Linked DNA regions of Homo sapiens: region 1 is linked to region 2. Evidence: promoter capture Hi-C in human tissues and cell types (Jung and others, 2019). All regions are on one chromosome and are shown on one strand. The core of a region is centred on a gene start or on the middle of the fragment in contact, and the rest is flanking DNA. Distances in the headings are between cores, read along the strand shown.

The links. The method cuts DNA at HindIII sites, captures the fragments that hold promoters and counts their contacts. A contact is called where the count stands out against the background at its distance.
Region 1: a contact is called between a fragment that was not itself captured here and the fragment with the promoter of NEUROD6 in region 2, in 1 of the 25 tissues and cell types used here (hippocampus).

The regions. Positions count from the first base shown.
Region 1 is chr7:32,394,699-32,399,092 of GRCh38, reverse strand. It overlaps a transcript of PDE1C not described here. Among named protein-coding and RNA genes, the nearest start is that of LSM5, 93 kb to the left of the region's middle. The HindIII fragment of the contact is 5,072 bases long and covers 1-4,394 here.
Region 2 is chr7:31,337,018-31,341,986 of GRCh38, reverse strand. NEUROD6 (neuronal differentiation 6) reads left to right here and starts at 1,261. Exons shown (of 2, transcript NM_022728.4): 1 at 1,261-1,394; 2 at 2,698-4,522. The coding sequence starts at 2,719. The coding sequence ends at 3,732. The HindIII fragment of the contact is 16,561 bases long and covers 1-4,969 here.

The DNA.
Region 1 (4,394 bases), core at 782-3,281, 1.1 Mb before region 2:
GTTCACTGTGTATATGTCCCTGTATTCACACCATATACTGAATACCGTGGAAAACACCACAAATCAGGGCCCCTCCCCCAGTTAAACATTTGCTGGGTAAGGGTGTTCACTATTTGTAATAGTGAAGAATCAGATGCAAACTAAATGTCTAGCAAGAGGAAAAGTTACCCTATGTGCTGGTGATCTGTTTAATCCTCCAAACCCACTTTCCACCCTTACCTAATCTGGGAGGCTGACCTTTATGGTCTGCTCTTACTTTCTGTCTTCTGTTTGGGTTGTGCCAATGAGAATGTGCCGAAGAATGGAGGATGGAAGGAGAGTAATATCAGGTCATTTATTCCCCCAAGTTCCCTTCCTGTAGGGTCACCATTAGCTGGCTGTCCCTCAGCTAGGATCACAGTTCTGGCCGGGCACCGTGGTTCACGCCTGTAATCCCAGCACTTTGGGAGGCCGAGACGGGAGGATCACTTGAGGTCAGGAGTTTGAGACCTGCCTGGCCAATATGGTGAAACCCCATCTCTACTAAAAATACAAATATCAGCTGGGTTTGGTGGCATGCACCTGTAATCCCAGCTACTTGGGAGGCTGAGGCAGGAGAATCACTTGAACCCAGGTAGTGGAGGTTGTGGCCAGCCAAGATTGCGCCACTGCACTCTACCCTGGGTGACAGAGCAAGACTCTGTCTCAAAAGAAAAAAAAAATCACAGTTCCTACCAAGTGATCTTGGAAATCATCCCGTATCAGTTCATACAGATCTTCCTCACTTTTTCTTTTTCTTTTTTTTTTTTTTGAGACGGAGTCTCGCCCTGTCACCCAGGCTGGCGCAATCTCGGCTCACTGCAAGCTCTGCCTCCTGAGTTCAACTGATTCTCCTGCCTCAGCCTCCTGAGTAGCTGGGATTACAGGTGCATGCCATCATGCTTGGCTAATTTTTTTTTTTGAGACGGAGTCTTGCTCTGCAGCCCAGGCTGGAGTGCAGTGGCGCGATCTCGGCTCACTGCAAGCTCCGCCTGCTGGGTTCACGCCATTCTCCTGCCTCAGCCTCCAGAGTAGCTGGGACTACAGGCGCCCGCCACCACCCCCGGCTAATTTTTTTATTTTTAGTAGATGAGGGGTGTCACTGTGTTAGCCAGGATGGTCTCGATCTCCTGACCTCATGATCTACCTGCCTTGGCCTCCCAAAGTGCTGGGATTACAGGTGCATGCCACCATGCCCGGCTAATTTTTTTTTTTTGTATCTTTAGTAGAGATGAGGTTTCACCATGTTGGCCAGACTAGTCTCGAACTCTGACCTCATGATCTGCCCACCTGGGCCTCCCAAAGTGCTGAGATTACAGGCGTGAGCCACCGTGCCTGACCCTCACTTTTTTTTCTTAAACAGTTGCAGATGTTCCATAATTTATTCAACCATGTTCTCTCCTATAGGCATTTAGATTGTTTCCAATATATTGCAATTACAAATAAAGTTGCAATGTATAACCTTGTATATATGTATTTTCATATAGTTTGGAGGTGTATCATCAAGTTAAAGGTCTAGAAATGAGATTGCTAGGCAAATGCACATGTAATTTTTAAAAATTTGCCAAATTCTCCTCTACAAGAGCTGAACCAGTTTGCATTCCCACTAGCAATGAATAAGAACTTGTATTTGCCTCCAGCCTTGACAATATGTTGTCAAGCTTCTAAATTTCCGTCAATCTGATATGTGAGAAATGGTATCTCGGGGTAGTTATAGTTTGCATCAAAAAATTATGGATGAAGTTTAATATATTTTTGTTTAAGTTTTCTGTTCATGTCTTTTACTTATTTTTTTCTGGGTTTCTGGCATTAGTCCCTCTCAATTTTTAAGAGTTAAAAATATATTAGGATATTGGCCCTTTATCTGTTATATGTTATGAACATTTTCTTTTTCGGCTTTGGTTATGATATTTTTTGTCACATGAAAGTATATTTCAGTATAGTAAAATTTATAGACCTTTTCCTTTATTGCATCTGGATTTTGAGTCATAGTTAGGAAGCTTTTCCCTACCTGGAGTTTGTAGAGAAATTCACCCATGTTTTCATGTAGTATTTGGTTTCGTTTTTTAATTTTAGGTCTCTGATCCTTTTTAAGTTTTTCCTTGTTTATGGTGTGAGATATGCATCTAAATCAATCTTTTTCCAAATGGTTATGAAGTTGTCCTTAAGTCATTTGATAAAATGTTCATCTCTTCTCTAAATGATTTGAGATACCACCTGTATCAAATATTAGATTTCCATGTGTACTTTGGACTGTTTTTGCAGTTTGTTCATTACATTTCCCTGTGATTTATTCTTATGCTGGTTTCACGTTGTTTTTATTTTTTTGGCACCAGTTTAAAAAAAACATTTTACTATAACAAACATACACAAAGTTGAAAGAATTTTACAGTGAAACCCATGTATCTGTCTGTATTCTACAGTGAACACTTCATTACATTTGCTTTGTCACATACTTATCCATCTCTTATCTCTCTATTCATCCATCAATTCATCTTATTTTTTCATGCATTTCAAAGAAAGTTGAAGACATTACAACACTCCCCCCCCCCATACTTCAATATGCATATCCACTTTATTTTTTATTTTTGTTTTTTGACACAAGGTCTCACTCTGTTGTTCAGGCTGGAGTGCAGTGGCATGATCTCTGCTCACTGCCACCTCGACCTCCTGGGCTCAAGTGATCCTCTCACTTCAGTCTCCCTAGTAGCTGGGACTACAGGCACGCACCACCATGCCCAGCCAATTTTTGTATTTTTATAGAGACAGGGTTTTGCCATGTTGCCCTGGCTGCTCTTGAATTCCTGGGCTCAAGCAATCCACCTGCCTCAGCCTCCCAAAGTGTTGGGATTACAGGTGTGAGCCACTGCACCTGGCTACATATCCATTTTAATTATGGAAGCTTAATAGTATGTTTTACTCTCTGCTGGGGCTAGTCCACCCTCATAGCTTTTCTCTTTTGGGTTTTCCAGCTATTTTATGATTCTTTTGCCATATAAACTTTAGTATCAACTTATCTAGCTCCATTATTTTAAAAAAGCTTGTTGATATTTTTATTGTGATTGCGTTCACTTTTAAATTAATTTAGGGACTACTGAGTTTTTAAGATATAATACTATGTTGTCTATCCAAAAAGAAAATATGTTTTTCCTGTAAATTAAATTTGAAGGCAAGAAGAAAAAGTAAAGAAAGTAAAATATTTTTTTTAGAATTGTTCAATCAGGAGTGTTTTAAAGTTTTCCTCATAAAGGTTTTCCTGAGAATGCTTTTTATTATATCTCTAACAAATTTTATTATATCTCTAACAAATATCTCTGTCTGCTACTCGTGAAGATCAAGAGTCTGTAAAACAACTTCTTAGCTTTGTAGCTGTAGCTAACTAAAATGTTTCTTCTTGTACTGACCCAGTAGTTTTTTCTCTGTAATTTATAGCCTTACCCCAGGTTTTAGTTTAGGTCATTGGAATAACAGATAAAAACTGTAAGTTCACTTCCCAGCTTGCTGATAGGATGAAGATCAACAGTCTAAGCCCATCCTCACTGGCTTCTGCGCACCTGTCCACCTCCTCTACCACTACCCCCCACCTCACCACCTTCTATCCTAGCAATATGGAATCACATTATTTCCTCACCCATATCCCTTTTTATGCCTTTGTGCCTCTGCTGATGCCTCTATCTGTAGTTTCTTGCCCCCCTCATCTTTCTGGAAATCTTTTACTTTTCTCTGTAAACTCAGTTGAAGAGTCACCTCCTCCAGGAAGCCTTCCCTGACCTCCCAAAGCACACTTCCCCCTGTACCTGTTTTGACTGCTGCACTTATGACATTGTGAGGTATGTGTTTTACATGTCTTTTCCTCCTTGATGTTTGTTTCTCCCCATCTTTGTATTACTAGCATTGAGTACAGTTCTTGGCACATAGCATGTGCTCAAATAGTTATTGAATAAATGAATGATTATAGGCCAGATTTCTCACCTTTTCCATATCGCAGTTGTCTCAATTCATTTTGCCGTTGCTCTAAAGGAATACCTGAGGCTGGGTAATTTATAGAGAAAGAGGTTTATCTGGCTCACAACTCTGCAGGCTGTACAAGAAGCATGGCACCAGATCTGCTTCTGGAGAGGAACTCAGAAAGCTTCCAATCATGACAGAAGGCCAAGGAGGAGCCAGCATGTCACACGGTGAGAGAGGAGGTGAGAGAGGAAGAGAGAGAGAGAAAAGGGAGGAAGGTTCCAGACTCTTTTATTTATTTAGATATTTTTTTCAGACAGGGTCTCGCTCTGTCACCCAGGCTGGAGTGCAGTGGCATGATCATGGTTCACTGCAGTCTTAGCCTCCTGGGCTCAAGCTATCCTTCCACCTCCACCTCAACCTCCTGA
Region 2 (4,969 bases), core at 12-2,511:
TCCTTTATAGGGGTGGGGGCACGGGAGAAGAGAAAACAGGAGGAAGGTGGAGTTTGTCTCTGCCTCCACAGTTCGTATTATCTATAAGGCTTTGCCAGCTTTGCTTAACTGTTTCCACCCTGCTTTTGTTAAGAAGAAACCAAAAGTGTGGAGCGGGGAAAAAAGATAAATCTGAAATACACCTGACAGGGAAAAACAACTGGACACTGATACAAGAACAAGAAGATATTTAAATTGATGTTGGTCTAGAGAAAAATGTGAGGACAAGATTTTTAAGAGAAAGAAAAAAATCTGAAAGTCAAAAAAAAAGAAAAAAAAACAAAAACAGGAAAGCTAATCTTTGATTAAAATACTCAGCAGAATGTCAGGGAGAGGAAGACAAACACCTAAGTGATAATTTTTATGTTTATTGTGTCTGAAATGAAATGAGAGGGAACAAGCAAGTTAACGCTGGGAAGAGATAAGGGACAATAAAAGAGTGAAGTTAGTGACTTTCTGCAGAGGACAAAGTATGTAGTTTGAAATCCTTAACAACGGACTTGCAGTGTCTCTGCAAAAGTTGGTGAAAGATACCAGCAAGTGTAGGAAGGGGAGTATTTGAGGATGTCTTTCACAGACCCCAGATGGAGAAGCTGTTCTTTTATTCCAAATGCCTAAGAAGCACAGAAGTCTTACATGTTAATAAGAGAACACAGAGACACACACTCATAAGTTACACGCTGTGAAACAAAACAAGCAAAGGAGACCTTTTTTGACCCCTGTTCACTTACACAAATCTTAGTTTGGTTAAACGTCTTAAGACCAGTTTCCAGCTCCTTTTCACGGCTTTCTTTCCCTGGGTACCCAGGTGCACAAATGGGATGGTGATCTTTACAAAACAACATCATCAACAACAAAAAAAACCTCTTGCTCACACAAAAGCCCACCTTGTAAATGAATGGAATATTAACGATCACCTAATACTTGCACCTTTGGCAGGGCGAAACTGAACACTAACACAGCTATTTCTACAGATTGCCAGTGAAACCGAAGCAGTTCGAGGAGAAATGCACCTACTGTACGTGAAATGCTGGTGCAGATTTTTTTCCTATCAGTCTAACCTTCTGTGTTGATGCATGAAGGCTGGTACCCACTTACAGGGATGCCAGATGATCAGTGCAGAATGAAGGTCCCAAGAGAGAGGATCACATGGCTCTCTCTGCCCTGTGACGTCACTAGCAGATGGCATGGGTACCAGCTCTGGCAGTTGGCATCAATGTCACTTTTTAGAGATCAATGAGATAGTGCAGATATACACAGATCTAGAGACTCCAGGAGACGATGCGACACTCAGCCTGAAAAGATTTGGAAGACCCAAAATGAAAACTGATTATTGAATGAAATTAAAACCTAAGGTAATATAAATAAAGATATACTTCAATTGATGCTGGCTTTGCATGCAAGTATTTAAAGATACAGTGTCACTGTCTTATAGTATTTATATGCTCTTTGCCATCTATAACTTATCATATTTCATTCTTATGATGTAATTATCACATACTTTCACTGCTATTATGTAACACTGCAAGTATGTGGACATTACTAAGAGTTTGTGTATGTGTTCGTGTGTATATGTGTGTGTTGAGGGGGCTGGAGATTGTTAAATTGAAAAGTCTCTGCTTTAATGTGCCTATTTGTTTGAAGACTTTAGATGAAAATACTTGCTGCTTCACCAGACAAAAACCAAAATGCATTTGAAACACAAATTATTTTCCCCTTTCATTTGGGATTCTGAACACACGTGCACAATTGCAGTCAGAATCCTTGGACCGTTCCTGTCAGATATTAGCTAGAGGGAGACTTCTATGGCTCGTAGAACAAAAACACTACGAGAGTGGTTTTTGTCCAGGATGATTTGAACAGCAGTAAACAGACAATTCTATTTGGAAAAAATTTAAATGTAAATAAAATCAGTCTCTATTTTTTTTAATTAAAAGAAATTGCTAGTGATTTTTATGTTTTAAATTTATTTATAGAGTTTATTCCAAATTAGCCTAATCCCCTTTTCTTTTTGAAGCCTGGGAAAATAGTGCCCTTTTACATAATTCTTTACTGATCAGAAAAAATCAGTTGAAAAATTGACTCTGATTATAATCTTTTCTTTAAATTTGTATATTCCCACACCCACTTATCTAAATTCACAGTTGTGTGATACAGCAAATAAAGTTAAGGTTTTGTTTGTTTGTTTGTTTGTTTTAAAAAAAGAACACAAATTTGTCAGCTAATGGAGAGATAGTCCATTTTAAAAACTGGTTTATCTTCTCATTTTGTGCTCAGGGGAATTGGAATTAATGAAATTCTGCATTGCAATTTCATGTTTTGCATTTGCTTGAATTCCACAATCTTTTTTGGGGGTATTAAAATCCAGTTTAAAGGCAAAGAGAAATGTAGATGGTAATGATATCACAATAATTATATGTTTCATTTTTATTTTCTTTTGATAATTTGCTCATATAAATAATCCTATTGAATGCATCAATGTCTTCATAATTACTTATCTTCACAAACTCAAAATTATATTTAATGTTAAAAAATCAGGCCCAGAATCAGTCTTTTTCACGTGTTTTTGTAATCTTATGATTAAATAATTAAATATGTTTTAAGTGTATAAACTTTAAAAATGAAAACTCTTTAAATATTGTGCTGGCATTTTTTCAGGTAATTTAAGATTAGAGAACCATGTTAACACTACCGTTTGATGAGTCTGTTGTAATGCCAGAATCCCAGATGTGCAGAAAGTTTTCTAGAGAATGCGAGGACCAGAAGCAAATTAAGAAGCCAGAAAGCTTTTCCAAACAGATTGTCCTTCGAGGAAAGAGCATCAAAAGGGCCCCTGGAGAAGAAACCGAGAAAGAAGAAGAGGAGGAAGACAGGGAAGAGGAAGATGAAAATGGGTTGCCTAGAAGGAGGGGTCTTAGGAAAAAAAAGACAACAAAGCTGCGATTGGAAAGGGTCAAGTTCAGGAGACAGGAAGCGAACGCGCGCGAGAGGAACAGGATGCACGGCCTCAACGACGCTCTGGACAACTTAAGAAAAGTGGTCCCCTGTTATTCTAAAACCCAGAAACTGTCCAAAATAGAGACTTTACGACTGGCCAAAAACTACATCTGGGCACTTTCTGAAATTCTGAGAATCGGCAAGAGACCAGATCTGCTCACATTCGTCCAAAACTTATGCAAAGGTCTTTCCCAGCCAACTACAAACTTGGTGGCAGGCTGCTTGCAGCTCAACGCCAGGAGTTTCCTGATGGGTCAGGGTGGGGAGGCTGCACACCACACAAGGTCACCCTACTCTACCTTCTACCCACCCTACCACAGCCCTGAGCTCACCACTCCCCCAGGGCATGGGACTCTTGATAATTCCAAGTCCATGAAACCCTACAATTATTGCAGTGCGTATGAATCCTTCTATGAAAGTACTTCCCCTGAGTGTGCCAGCCCTCAGTTTGAAGGTCCCTTAAGTCCTCCCCCAATTAACTATAATGGGATATTTTCCCTGAAGCAAGAAGAAACCTTGGACTATGGTAAAAATTACAATTACGGCATGCATTACTGTGCAGTGCCACCCAGGGGTCCCCTTGGGCAGGGTGCCATGTTCAGGTTGCCCACCGACAGCCACTTCCCTTACGACTTACATCTGCGCAGCCAATCTCTCACAATGCAAGATGAATTAAATGCAGTTTTTCATAATTAATGAGGAAAATGAAAATAAACAGTGGTCATTCACCTCCCCTGTCTAATTAAGACAAAGCAGATGCTTGTGGGCTGAGTAATTGGCACAACTCTATCTAAGGTGTTTACTAGTTTCTGAAGTGTGTTTCAACTATTGTGAGAATTTTCTATGTAATAATAAATCTCTTTTCGTATGAGAACTTCTTTTCCTTTCCTTTTGTCTGTGAAGCACTGTGATTCTGTTTCTACTGGAAAGATTTTTTTCTTTTTAATTTTCTTTTAAACTTATTTAATTTGTTTGAACAAGGTGTCTAAGAATATACTGTTGAATAAAGACATGCACACAGCATAATTCAATGTCTATTTTGGTTGTACAGTAATTATAAAATGCATGTTATTAAAACCAGATGAGTAAAATGATGTGTTTATAATTATTAGGAATTATATATTATGTATCTTTTAAAAATTGAAATTTTAAAATATGGAGAATATCACTAAGCTGACAATGATATTGGGAGATGAATTTGCAACAATATAAAAAGCTATGCAATTTTCTTTTTATTAAGGATGAATCTAAATGCATTCAATTGGTAACTATTCCTCTTCAAGTATTTGCAGATGGGGCAACATGATATTTGGGTAGCTGATGTCATAATTCGGGGACAATTATCTCAATCATCAAGAAAAAAATTTCAGCACTTGTTTTGTATTATTCAGAAATTAACTGTACAGGTTTGTTATCACAATGTATAATTGTGTTTTTCCACCCCACATTTTTAAGGCAATTAAATATAGATATTTCCACTCGTAAAGGACATCTACTAGCTGTGATATTTTTGCATGCTACTTATTATTTCCTGGCACACAGCTGCTTTCTGTCTCCAATACTCCCCACTCCTCATTTCAGAAATATTTCTGGATTACAAAACCGTAGGAGCTAAAACAAATTTCTTAAACAGAATGGCCAAAGCGCTTACAAGAATTTTTTTTTCAAGTGTCTTAAATGAAAGAAGAGGAGCCCATGAGGGTTAAACATCCTGGGGAAACAATGATAAATCCTGGTAACCTTCAGCTCGAGCCTAAAATCGGTGGCAAATTTCCAACAAACACCAGAGTGGATGTTAAAAATGGAAGGTTTTACTCTGCGCCGGTTAAATGTCTGGCCGATCAGAGGCTAAATTCTGTGTGATTAAAAGTTTCCTTACAAAGGCCACCAAAAACTTATTTTTAATAGCGCTTGGGGAGCTAAACCTCTTAAA